4 separate regions of the Homo sapiens genome follow, and regions 1, 2 and 3 are each linked to region 4. Evidence: promoter capture Hi-C in 16 types of primary human blood cells and fetal thymus (Javierre and others, 2016). All regions are on one chromosome and are shown on one strand. Each heading gives the region's core, a stretch centred on a gene start or on the middle of the fragment in contact. The rest is flanking DNA. Distances are from core to core; before and after follow the strand shown.

The links. Contacts are between HindIII fragments. The CHiCAGO score rates a contact against its expected background, and 5 or more counts as called.
Region 1: a fragment that was not itself captured here is called in contact with the fragment with the promoter of SHROOM3-AS1 in region 4 in 1 of 17 cell types (total CD4 T cells); the score reaches 6.8 in total CD4 T cells.
Region 2: a fragment that was not itself captured here is called in contact with the fragment with the promoter of SHROOM3-AS1 in region 4 in 1 of 17 cell types (endothelial precursors); the score reaches 5.2 in endothelial precursors.
Region 3: a fragment that was not itself captured here is called in contact with the fragment with the promoter of SHROOM3-AS1 in region 4 in 1 of 17 cell types (M2 macrophages); the score reaches 5.9 in M2 macrophages.

What each region holds. Positions count from the first base shown.
Region 1 is chr4:77,212,115-77,215,382 of GRCh38, forward strand. No RefSeq gene overlaps it. Among named protein-coding and RNA genes, the nearest start is that of CCNG2, 57 kb to the left of the region's middle. The HindIII fragment of the contact is 1,721 bases long and covers 764-2,484 here.
Region 2 is chr4:76,515,659-76,518,750 of GRCh38, forward strand. The region is part of intron 1 of SHROOM3 (shroom family member 3); the gene reads left to right. Among named protein-coding and RNA genes, the nearest start is that of MIR4450, 56 kb to the right of the region's middle. The HindIII fragment of the contact is 936 bases long and covers 1,242-2,177 here.
Region 3 is chr4:76,444,523-76,447,495 of GRCh38, forward strand. All of the region lies in intron 1 of SHROOM3 (shroom family member 3), which reads left to right. Among named protein-coding and RNA genes, the nearest start is that of SHROOM3, 11 kb to the left of the region's middle. The HindIII fragment of the contact is 3,057 bases long and covers 1-2,877 here.
Region 4 is chr4:76,800,835-76,803,868 of GRCh38, forward strand. SHROOM3-AS1 (SHROOM3 antisense RNA 1) reads right to left here and starts at 1,629. Exons shown (of 3, transcript NR_187405.1): 1 at 1,223-1,629. RefSeq lists an enhancer at 414-1,204. The HindIII fragment of the contact is 9,780 bases long and covers 1-3,034 here.

The DNA.
Region 1 (3,268 bases), core at 374-2,873, 410 kb after region 4:
ATCAAATGTGCAAGCAAACCAAGCTGTACCTGCTGCGAGGCTCTTTTCTCAGGTCTCAAAGCTTTGGGGTTAGCTGACAAACTGAAGTAGCACACCCAAATGCTTGTTGCCTTTAAAAGCCAGAAGAGGCTGACTTAACATTGTTCCCTTAGCAGTAAGCCACGTTTGGTGGCTGAGGAATAAGAAACCCTTCACTCTAATCAAAGTTCTCCCTTGAGTATTTCTATTACCAAGAGATACCTCCACTGGATCCATCTGGGCCTGCACTTTAGGAGTCAAGGTTATCCCTCTTTTCTTCCTACACATTGTTTGTGTAGGACCTAGACTGATGCTGGCTCCTTCTTAATATTTTTTCCCTCCATTCTTGGTGCAAGCTTGACTACTGTCTGGGACAGATAAGAAACTGACATGCCATGCCCTAAGAGCTAGGTCAAGCGGTTTGCATCTTAGTAGACTCTGATCTCCATTACTTCATGAATACCCTAAAAGCAATGAAATGGGTTCATGACAGCCTCCTTAGATCAGGAAGTTAAGTGAGAAATGGCCTGTAGTAGCTCCTCACAAGCCTCTTAATGCTCTTGTGTTCTAGGAAGTTCACAAGGGTGTTCAGCCAAGTCTGAGGTCACCTGTGCTTCAAATTGTACCTGTGGCCAAGTCATTAGGTGCCACAAAGCTATTAGTCTATATGTAGTAACATAACTCATGAACAATGGCTATGAGGTCTATAGTATATTAAACTTAATGTTTAGTGTTCAGCTCTTAAAGCTTTAAGGCTCTTCCATGTTTCTTCTATACTTGTTGCAATTTTTTCAGGAGGGATTTTATAGAATGTCCCTCTTCAAATATCTTGCCCAGTGGAATAAAGTAAACCTTCATCCCTGAGATCTGAGCCTCTGGCTACTTCACCTTTTACTAGGTCATGGCTGCTGCAGTTTGCCAATTCACTGAGCACCAAGACCACTCTCCTTCAAATCCCCTGAGTTGTAGACATGCCAATTCCTGCTGCCACCTAGTAACAGCAATGCAAACTCACCATGATAGGGCTAATTACTATCAGCAAAGCAGACCTGTGCTGTCCCTGCTGGACTACTGGTTTAAGGAGTCCAAAATGATAGCCTAATTGTGGGTTTATTGAACTGTGTCCTCTGGAAGCTCCCTGAAATACTTTGAAGACAACTAATCATTCAGTCTCAGGCATAGTTCTCAAGTGGGTTATTGGGAATGATAGTAAAAGAAGTTAAAGTGATCATTGCTTTGTCACCAATACACAGGACACACAGGGCTGGGAAAAATGTATGATGTAGTCACTGGTTCAATTTGTAGATGCATTCTGGAGGACAGTGCCACAGGCGCATAGACTGTCACTAAGTCAGCACATTAGGATGCAGGAATGCCTTCCTTGAAGATACCTGCAAGACCAGCTTCGGTGTGATGTGGTATATATGGTAGGATGATGGATACTGTGATCAGGTCTTTCACCTCAGGTGTACAATGGGTCCCTCAGTTCAAGGTGATACTTGGAGCCTTGCTTCTGTAGTAGATACTCTCATTGAGACAAGCGTGCGGATCTTGTGCCTAATTCCTCAGGTAGATCCATGTCCTATTCTCTTTGGCTTCATTTTCTTATCTTCAAATCCTGTTCCTTTAGGCCCTTGATCACTAAGGATGAAAGGGGACCATGCACCAAGGAATACAGGCAGCCTAGAGTAGCTGGAGGAGGTAAGATGAATCTCCTAGAATACAGCCCTGCCCACATCTCCATTTTAGCCCAGTGAGATTAACTTCAGACCTGACCTGCAGAGTTGTAGGATATTTATCTATAGTTTGTCTGCAACTTGAAGTGCTGTTAGACTTGGTACTTTCTACCAAAAACACAAGTTTGTGTTAAATTAGGCCACTTAATGGTAATTCTGCAGCAATAGGAAACTCACACCTACTTAATCAGGGCTTGGTAATCTCTACCAAGGACTTGACAGACAGGGGCCTGTTGGGGTATGATTTTTTTGGCTGAGGAATGACAACCCACTCCCTCTCTGCTTCTGGCACTAAGTTATGGCCCCTTCAGGAATGGGAAACTTCATGATAGCACCACCATTGACCACCTTCTGGTAGAGCCTCAGCCAACTCCCAAGCAAGAAAAGCACTAAATGAGCCAGAGTGACTCCACACATTTCCACTCTTCCCCAAGTGGATGTCTTGCCATTCCCCAACTCTCCAGCCCACACTACCCCAAAGCAGTCTCACAAGAGTCCCATACAACTGATTTGGATCAGTGTAAATAGCATACCAATTGGACAACTGAAAAAGCAACTCAACCTCAGTGAGGTTTCAGATAACCAATCACGTGCATATCAATGGTTTGTGTACTGGGGGGTAATAGAAAAGCTCTGTTAATCATGTTTAAACTTCAGGGGGTACATGTGCAGGCTTCTTATAGGTAAACTTGTCACGTGGGTTTGTACAGCTTTTGGCACCCAGGTACTAAGCTTAGTACCCACTAGTTTTCTGGATCCTCTCCCTCCTTCACTTCAGTAGGGCCCCAGTGTCTGTTCCCCTGTGCCATGTGTTCTCATCACTTAGCTCCCACTTAAGTGCAAGCATGGATTCATGTATTTGGTTTCCTGTTCCTGCTTTAGTTTGCTAAAGATAATGGCCTCCAGGAGCTCCATCCATGATCTTGAAAAGGACATGACCTCATTCTTTGTGGCTGCAGGGTATTCCATGGTATATGTACCATGTTCTTTATCCAGTCTATCACTGGGCATTTAGGTTGATTTCATCTCTTCAAAGTCATGTTTATTTTTATCAGCACTATTCTCACAAACAGCACACCTAAGATAAGTGAACAGCTTGCTAATGTATATGTCCAGATACTGTTGAATAGTTAGACATCTTTAATACAGCTTTTCAAAACTCCTTAAACTCCAAGTGGGTTCTCAAATGTGTTAACACATTTCAGGTGATCTCTTCCTCTAACAATACACCAACCTACTTACCAGGTGTGACGGCTTTTCTGGTATGCTGAAGTAGATAGGCTAGTGCCCAGTTATGCTGACACTAATCCAAGTGTTGATTTGAAAGGGTTTTACAATGTAGTTGTATCTTGCACATGTAGCTAAAGCACCAATGTAGTTTTTACTAAAAGTATCCTGGACAGCCTGAACCTGATGCAACCTGAGTCACTATGACTGACTCAGATATGTCAGGGCTATTTTTAAGTTCCACCTGTGGACAGTGGCATCACCTGTGCCCGTGGATCCCATTCTGC
Region 2 (3,092 bases), core at 460-2,959, 290 kb before region 4:
GTTAATGTTTCTGGGTTTGCAGTATCAGTCAGTGACCAGAGTTGGATTTTACGTCTAAAAACCATATAAACTCAAGCCGAGACTTGTCTGGGTGTAGACTTCCCATTGCCAAATTTAATTTTATTATTTAAAGTCATGTTGAGAAGTCATGTAGGTGGTCTTTCTTCTAAGCTAGGACAGACTTATCAGTCTCACTTGCCTGGTACTACTTTATGAGGTAAATAATTAATTTGAGATATTAGGCATAAGCTGGTCTTGATCTGTTCTCAAACTCCAGGTGGGTAGAAAGCTCAACTGTTGACACAGGGCCTGGCATGGGAAATGATTACATGGGAAGCCATGTCTGATAACCAGAAATGATACTTCATAATAACACAAAGATAATGAGAGAGATTGGGAGTCAGGTTAGTGTGTGAAACTAGCAGTAGACCGAGAGGGAAAGTGGGTTGTGATCCTTCTTTGAAGTCACCACAGAGTCTTTCTGCTCCTTCACCCACTATGGTTAGTGAATGACCAAGGATACTGACTTTACCTCCTACTATTACTCAAATGTATATCTCTTCTCCGTCATTTCTCCTGTTCAGTTCCTCTTTCTCTCTAGCCTGGTCAATTGCAATATCTTTGTAACATGTTTTCTAGACTGTAATATTGCTCCTATTATCCATCCTTCCAACTAGGAAAGTAATATTCCTGAAGTCCAAATCATGCCATGTCCCTACCTTATTAGTTCTCTGTGTTGAGATCAGATGAAGCTATAGGCAGAGATGCTCTTATGACATGAAGGACTGGGGTTCCCTTGTAAGACCATCAGAATTTGCCCTATCTAAGCCCCTACTCAGGAGCCTAGAGGAATCCCTGAACTGAATGGTCTGAGTCAGCTGATACTCTCAGATAACAGCACTTTGCTCATAATATATGAAAACAGGAGCATGATTTAGAAAAAAAAAAGGAACCAAAATCACCAGCTAATAGATATTATGCAATAAGCACATTACAGAAACACAAAGTCCTGGTGTACATCACCAGGGCAGTCCCTGAGGACAGTCTAGCCAATAACTACACTTAAGTTGGGTCTCCAGATCTGATTTTCTAAGTTTCTGATCCTGGATCCTTTCATAAATTATAGCTGCTACCTCCAATCCCACCCCAAGTCTCATGAACAGGAAATCTGTGAAAAAGTTTTACAGGGAGGTTTGAGAACTCCCTCTGAGCTAGCCAATCCAGAGTCTTGCTTTCAGCCAAGCTTCCATCATACCCAGATTTTAATGATGAGTTATTTATGTTCTCACTTAAGGAAATCCTTTCCTACCCTTTGGAACTTCTATTTATCTTGTTATTAAAACTGTCTTCAAATAGATTTCCTGCTGCAATACAACACACTTGGTGACTTTCTCAGTCTTACAATGGGATTAGATATTTAGTGCTGAAAGGATCATTGCAAGGAGAGCAATCAGGTTTCTTCTCAGTGACAACTGCTTGGTCTTCTTTGCTGTAAAAGAACTTTGCTTTGAGCTTTGATACATGGAAAATGTCTGCCAGAGGCCCTGGTGAGAAAGAGTCCGTGTGTCTGCCCATCTTGGGTCATACCCTTGTCATCCAGGAACTAACAAGTCACCCCAGTTTACATGCAGTTGGCATTGGATGGGTGTAGGCAAATCACCTGGACTATCAAAGATACAGTGTCTAAAAAAGGCTCACTTCCTCCCTATCCCAGGTGGTAACACTGCATCGCAAGTACAGGGCATCCCAAATACAGAACATCCCTAACCCTGCATGCCCAGGGCACTGTTCTCAGCTCTGCTGGTCTGACCAGGTAGTTTCACAGAATTCTTGCTTGGTTAACTTGTAGTTTTTTGACATGATGTGCTAGATAGGTAAGATTTAGGATTCTTATCCATGTAAATGAAACTTAAAAAGAATTTCTCCTGATTGAGTTGCTTAGGGTTTTTGTTTGTTTGTTTGGTATATATATATATATATATAAAGGGGATGTTAGGGCTGTAGTCAGTGGCTGATTATTTGAAAATTTCTTCAACAATATGGGTTCTGTTCTGCTAATTCTCAGACCAATGAGGGCCTGTGTATGCTAGCAGAGAGAGGAAAAGACTAGGGTTTTCAGATTAGGACTCTGGGCCAGAATTTGTTACCATGTGACCTTGGACCACTCATTTAACCAAAGCTTCCCAGCCATTCCCCGTGGAAAGGAAGTGGATTGAATGACCTCCCGGTAGCCTCACCGGGATATTGCGGCTGCAGCAGAGCAAGGGCTGCATATAGAAGAGGAACATGAAGACTTTTTCCTTACAAAGTAAATGATATGAATTGACTGTGGTAAAGTTTCTAAATCAGATTTTTTTTAGTCCAGAGGGACAGCTTTTAAAATGAGAGATTTATTTAAGTTATAAGGAAATATCTGTCAACCCTCAGAAATTGCAAGATGATTATTTTGGTTGTGTGTGTGTATGTGTGTGTGTATTCCTAGTGGAGGGTGAGAGCTTGACTCTTAAGAATCATATAAAATATCAAATTATCTCAACTTCTGATAAATAGGGGGAAAGACAGACATTTTGGGGAGGTTCAAACCTCTATAATTCTTTAGGCATTTAACCCCCCAAGAGCAGGGACTACATTTATTCATTCGTAGTGTCCTCCACTCCATATCAGCATCTGGCACCTAATATGCACTCCATAAATCTTTGTTGTGGTTGAATGAGATCATTTTCCCCATGTCTTTGAAAGACAGAGGCAAAAACAGAGTGTTCTCATTAATGGACAGGGTTTTATTTCATTTTCTTTCCCCTCCCCCCTCCTTCCTTTTTGCCTGTCTGCCTGCCTGCCTTCCTTCCTTCCTTCTTTCCTTCCTTCCTACCTTCCTTCCTTCCTACCTTCTTCCTTCCTTCCTTCCTTCTTGCCTGCTTGCCTGCCTGCCTGCCTGCCTGTGTTAAATAATCTGAATGATTTCAAAGAATCAAAAATGGCTGTTCACATTTGGTAGGGTTCTACGGAGCTTATCTAACATATTTCTAAATGAGTACTGTAACACATCTGGGGCCAGGCACCCAAGCCTGTTCCTGTGTACTCTCTCATTTGCC
Region 3 (2,973 bases), core at 99-2,598, 360 kb before region 4:
TTGCTCTGTCGCCCAGGCTGGAGTGCAGTGACACGATGATCTTGGCTCACTGCAACCTCCACCTCCCGGGTTCAAGCGATTCTCCTGCCTTAGCCTCCCAAGTAGCTGGGACTACAGGCATGGGCCCCATGCCTGGCTAATTTTTGTATTTTTAGTAGAGATGGGGTTTCACCATATTGGTCAGGCTGGTCTTGAACTCCTGACTTCGTGATCCGCCTGCTTCGGCCTCCCAAAGTACTGGGATTACAGGCATGAGCCACCACGCCTGGCCAGTTTTCTCATCTTTCAAAGGCACCAGGCATGGTGGCTCACACCTGTAATCCTAGCACTTTGGGAGGATGAGTCAGGTGGATCATTTGAGTCCAGGAGTTCAAAACCAGCTTGGGCAACATGGCAAAACCCTGTCTCTACAAAAAATACAAAAATTTGCCAGGCATGGTGGTGCATGCCTGTGGTCCCAGCTACTCAGGAGGCTGAGGTGGGAGGATCGCTTGAGCCCAGGAGGTGGAGATTACAGTGAGCCAAGATTGTGCTACTGCACTGTAGCCAGGTGACAGAGCCAGACATTGTCTCAAAAAAAAAAAAAAAAGGAACATTCTTACCTAATGAAGTTGTTATAAGTATCCAACATAGTATAAGCTATGCAATAGTGCTTTGTAGGTATCCAGCATAGGTAGGCAACTCATATGCCAAAGATGATACTTGGCTGATTTTCTGTATCATGGCCAGCAGTTGCTACCTCACACTGAAACACTGAACAGATTATTCCCTGCCATCATAGAGCTTATATTCCAACAGAAGGGGACTGGCAATAAACATGTTTGTATATGCTAATTTCAGGGTGTGGTAAGTATTATTAAGAAAAAAAATACCCAATACGATATGTTCCAGAGTGATAGTGTCTGTGAGGTAGAGGTATGCCACATGGTGATTAGAGAAGGGTTTTCTGAGGAGATGACATTTGAGCCAAGACCTAATAAGAAATAAGAAGCCAGACATGCAAAGAGGTTTATAAGTTGGGCTGAGGTAGGAGAGTCTTAGAAAGTTCTAGAAACAAAAAGAAAGTCAGTGTTATTGGAGTACAGTAAGCGAGAGAGTAGTATGAGAAATGGAAAGGTAGGCTGAGGTCAGATCACATAAGGCCTTGCAGGCTGTGGAAAGGACCTTGGACTGGATCTAAATGCAGGGTGTGAGGGTAGATCGCACCAAGAGTCTTTCTCTATTCATGGTGAAATGGACAGACCCATGGCAGGTACTTAAACCCTGGGAGGTTTTTAGTACTGGCTCTTAAAGCCACCTTCTTCCTCCCTCTCATGTACATTTCTAAGGTACTTCCTGGGTCTACAACAGGACAGGGCTTTCCAAAAGACAACTGTTAACCAAAAGACAACTGTCAACATCATAGTAACTTAGGGAATGATGCACAAAGAAACAGTAAATACTCTCTTTGCTGTTGGGAGAGTTTTCCCCCTCCACCCCATAACTCTTGATCTCTTGGGTTATTTTTCACTCTCAATTGACAAGACTTCCTGGGTTGCTTTTATCACCGTACTGTCAGTAACTTGACTGAGGTCCTGCTCTGTAACAGGCATGCTAGCTCATGTAAGCATTGCAAAACTCTGGGAAGTCCTATAGGTGGAGAGACTGGACTCTTGCTGAAGGTCATAAAACTACTAAGGTACACATCTAAGACCTTTTTAACTTTCAGCCTGAAAAATTTCTTTCAAAGTAAAAACTGCGTTGTCACTTTGTGATGCCAAAGAACCCTTCCATCTATGTTACCCCATATCTTGATAAACTGGTAAAAAAAAAAAAAAAAAGTGGAATGCATGAACTGTGTGCAACAGTCAGTCAACTTGGTGGCATCCTTAAGGTGCCCTGCTCGGTGAAATGGCGGCGGTGGGGGATGCACATCTACTTCTATTAACACTGGGAGTTCAACTGGGCTCTCTGCATCTTCCCAGGTGCTGCTTCCTGCTGCTTTTTACTTCTGCTAGACTCTGACCACTCTGGTTGTTTGGGTGGGGTATATCCCATCACATGGATAGGCCATGAAAAAACCTCAACCCCCAAGGCCTGGTACTCAAGGAGAAATACTAGACGAACATTAGATGGTTTAAAGCTAACAGGGACTGAAACCAGTTAAAAGAGGGAATCAGACATAAGTTGCAAACTGATAGAACAATGATCTGCTGGGGCACATGAGGTTCATGCCTCCCGACATGCTGATGAGCCCCGGTTATGAGCTGGGCACCACAACTGATGGTCTTTTATGAAGGAGTGCTCTTTACACCAAACTTTATCTCATTTTGGTTGTCCCTTTCTAGCCCTTGCTTAGTTCAAAATGTAGTACATCTGCTGTGCTCATCCAGCTTCATCTACTGCTGAGTTGGCTGTGTCCACGCTCAATCTGTCTGCTCTGGTTTCATGATGGTCACTAGCATTCACTTTCCCTGCAAGGCCTACTCGCCGGCTTTCCTAATAGTACACTCTCTTGGCACGATCCTGGGAACTTCACGTACAGTTGTTACCCTCAAAGCCATTGCTACCTGCTAGGGTCTTGGTTCAATTGGCCTCATCTCTCACTCATTCTTGGTTCCTGGAAACCTGGTACAGACAGATCCTAGTATTCTAAAGATCTCAAAATTTAAAAATCATTGTGACATGAATTTGAAGTCAAAACCCAGGCAATTTAAGTGGAAATAAGCATTCTTCAGGTTAGTCAAAGTGCTTAGCACTTTGTATATTAAAGTGTATCCTGAGCCACACATTTGCTAGAAGGTAAGAAGAAAAATTGGACTCTAGAATCAATTGCCTTTCTCTTTTCCTTTGAAAAGTTAAAATTTTTAATGAAAGAAGTTGTGTGGGTACAATGTAAGCTTTTATCATCTTGCATGTGTCCTCTGAGAGGTTCACATTTTTGAGGCCTTGTCTCATGGAAACTGGGAAATGAGCTTCTGGAATTCAGACCCA
Region 4 (3,034 bases), core at 379-2,878:
ATGAAACTAGACCCCATGTCACTATATACAAAAATCAAATCAAAATGGATTAAATAGTTAAATCTAAGACCTCGAACTATGAAACTACTACAAGAAAACAATGGGAAAACGCTCCAGGACATTGGACTGGGCAAAGGTTTCTTGAGTAATATCCCTCAAGCACAGGCAACCAAAACATGAGCGGGACTTTTAGGGTGCACTACTCTCAACACCTGAGAAGCAAAACTATGAAAATAAAAGCAAAAATTCCCCCGACCCAACCCCTCCTGGTCTCCTAGTCATTCTTCAAGTTCTGAGTCAATTTATGCCTATGATTTTAAAACACAGGTTTTGTAGCCAGACGGACTACATTCAGACCCAGATTCACTATTATCCTTTGCCTTAGTTTGATAATCTGTAAAATGGGGCTAATCTCTCTCGAGGCTATGCTGAGGATCAGATGACTGCCAAATATAAAGTATTTATATGGTGCACCGTATAAATACTTTGCACCAACCTTATATATCTTAAGCACCTCGTCAATGGGTGCTGTCATCATATTTGCCAAGAGTTATCCCAGGTGGGAGTGATAGAGCAGTGAACAAAACAGACACAGCCGCTGGCCTCCTCCAGGTGCACACAGCCTTCCAAAAATAATATTAATTAAATAAAGCATTGTAACAACACTGACTTAAACTCCTCTGGTCGGGACTGCCCTGTGACTATGTCTGGAATATGTCTAAATTAGCACCCACAACTGTTTTATAAGTCTTCAAAGCCTGTCTCCTCCCAGGCCTTGAACCCCTGGGCACAGAGACCAGCGGCTGATCCCTACCTTTGGGCGCTCGCCCCTGCACTGTGCCTGGCCCTCAGCAGGCCCTACCGACTGTCCTTGCTGACAACAGGAGGAGGGCTGTTGGCGGCACTGACAAATCAAGCGGGTGTCGGACCTCAGCGCCTAGAGGGAGTGCTCTGTCTCCCTCCTTTCCGCCCGGTCTCAGTCTCCCGCCCGGATTCCCTCCCACCGGCAGTAGCCAACAGCCTGTCCCAGCCTTGACCCCATCCATTCTCTCAGCTTACTCTCAGGGTCCGAAACGTGAAAAGGCCAGCAGCTTAGCAAGGTCTCCGACCTCTGTTCCACTCGCCCTCGCCCTCCTTGCTGCTGCGCCTAAAAGCAATCCCAGGCCCACCGCGCCCGCCCACGCTGGCTTCCCCCAGACACCCCCGGCTGCGATTCCCCTACCAGACTTGGCAGTTCCCCAGGGTGTTCGCATTAGCGCCAAGGGGAAACATTCGTTGTTAATTACGTTGCTTCTTAATGATGAGCGTCTGCCGGGCGGCTCCTCTCAGAAGAAAGGCAAAGTGTTCGGAATCGCAACATTTCTGGCCCTGAGCTCTGGAAGGATCGAGCTCCGCTACGGGCCCAGGGCTGAGAAAACGCGCGACCCCGGGGGTCCGTCCACCTCTTCAGGGAACCCACACATTCCACAGATCTCTGTGAAACAGAAAAAGTGTTCCTTCTGAAGACCAAGGGCGTCCCTACAAGATAGATTCTGTCCTCTTCCCTTTGGCTTCTTGGTGAGGGCGACCCTCTCTGCTGAGAGCGCTTCCCTCCAGCTCGCCACGGAGGACGCTGTGTAGCAAAGAAAGGTCCCTCTTCACTTGTGTGAGTTTGCTAACAGTGCACGCAAGGCTTCTCGGGTGAAAGAGGCCTGAGCCACTTCTTTTGAAGCCCTAAATGTATTTTTTAAATGAAGACATGCCAAACAGCTACAAAAAGTTGTAATTGTGCTGTATTTTAAAGCTCCGCCTTGATTACCAGTGTTGTTTACACGCATGCAACTGTAATGACTGCCTGCATAAGCTCATCTGGAGATAAGGCCTAAAGGCCGTATGTGAGGCCCCTGATGGACATGAGGCCAGGATCAAATAGCTCTTCTCCTCTCCCCTCTGAGACGAGCTCTGTGACTGCAAATACACAGGGAGGGGAGGGGAAGTGGCCTGAGAGAGGCGGCGGGAGGAGAATTAACCCTACAACAGAGACAGTGAGGTTTAAAAAAAATAAGTGGACTTGAGAACTGGGTTCATATTGGGTGCCGGTGAGGATACTTCACCTCCTTCTTGCCTCATTACCCATCTGTAAGCTAAGGAATGTTGAAAGAGGCTTTGTTCTCCAAAAAAGATAAAAACAGTTCTAAGGAGAAAAGAGGCCATGGGCCGGGAAGCAAGAATGCATTGCTAAGAGCACCCTGAAGATGTTTCTTTCCTCCTTCTTGCCTCCCTCCTCCTCCCTGAGATGGAATCAAAATGCTTTAACAGGCAGTTGACGAAGAACACGATTCATCCCAACCAAGTGGAGAGTTTTTCTTGTGTTTGATATTTATTAAAATCTTGGAATTCCACACTTCATCCATTTTTCCCATGGCTTCCCTTCATGCATAAACAGCAAAAAGGATGCTGCTTGTTACATAAACTTGTCAGGCTGCAAAAGCCCAACATTCTGTTTTCTCCCTAAGTGGGGTGCGGGAGGAAGCGTGTGTTTATTATGTATTACAAAGAGCTTTGCACTACCTAAAATCAAAGTAATTAGGTAGTGCGAGTCAAAAATAGTTTTGAAATGTTATAAATAAAGTGACAAAACACTTCTTTAGATTTCTGAGAAATGCATTCCTGACAATATTGCTCCTGCTCTCTCTGCATTTGCTATTAGAAAAGAAAGGCCTTCTTTCTCAGTCTATCTTTGCACCATCACCTGGACACCCTCCGAGATGAGTCACAGGCAGAGGAAATTATCGTGATTGCATATTGTTTAGTCTCTAAACTTCAGCTGCTTCCTGGGCAACCCAGTTGCCTGCAATTTAACCTGCCTGGATGGATGAGCTCATTAATGAGCCGCCCCACAGGCTTTCTCGATTGGCTCTTCTCCAGACCCTAGTTCTCTTTCTTCACCCAGTGGTCACTGGTTCACCAGCCTTCCTTGTGTGATGAAGTAAGTCCTCATCCCACTCTCACTGCGCTCCTCCCTCCTTCTGGAGGAGACCTTAGAAAGGGTGGC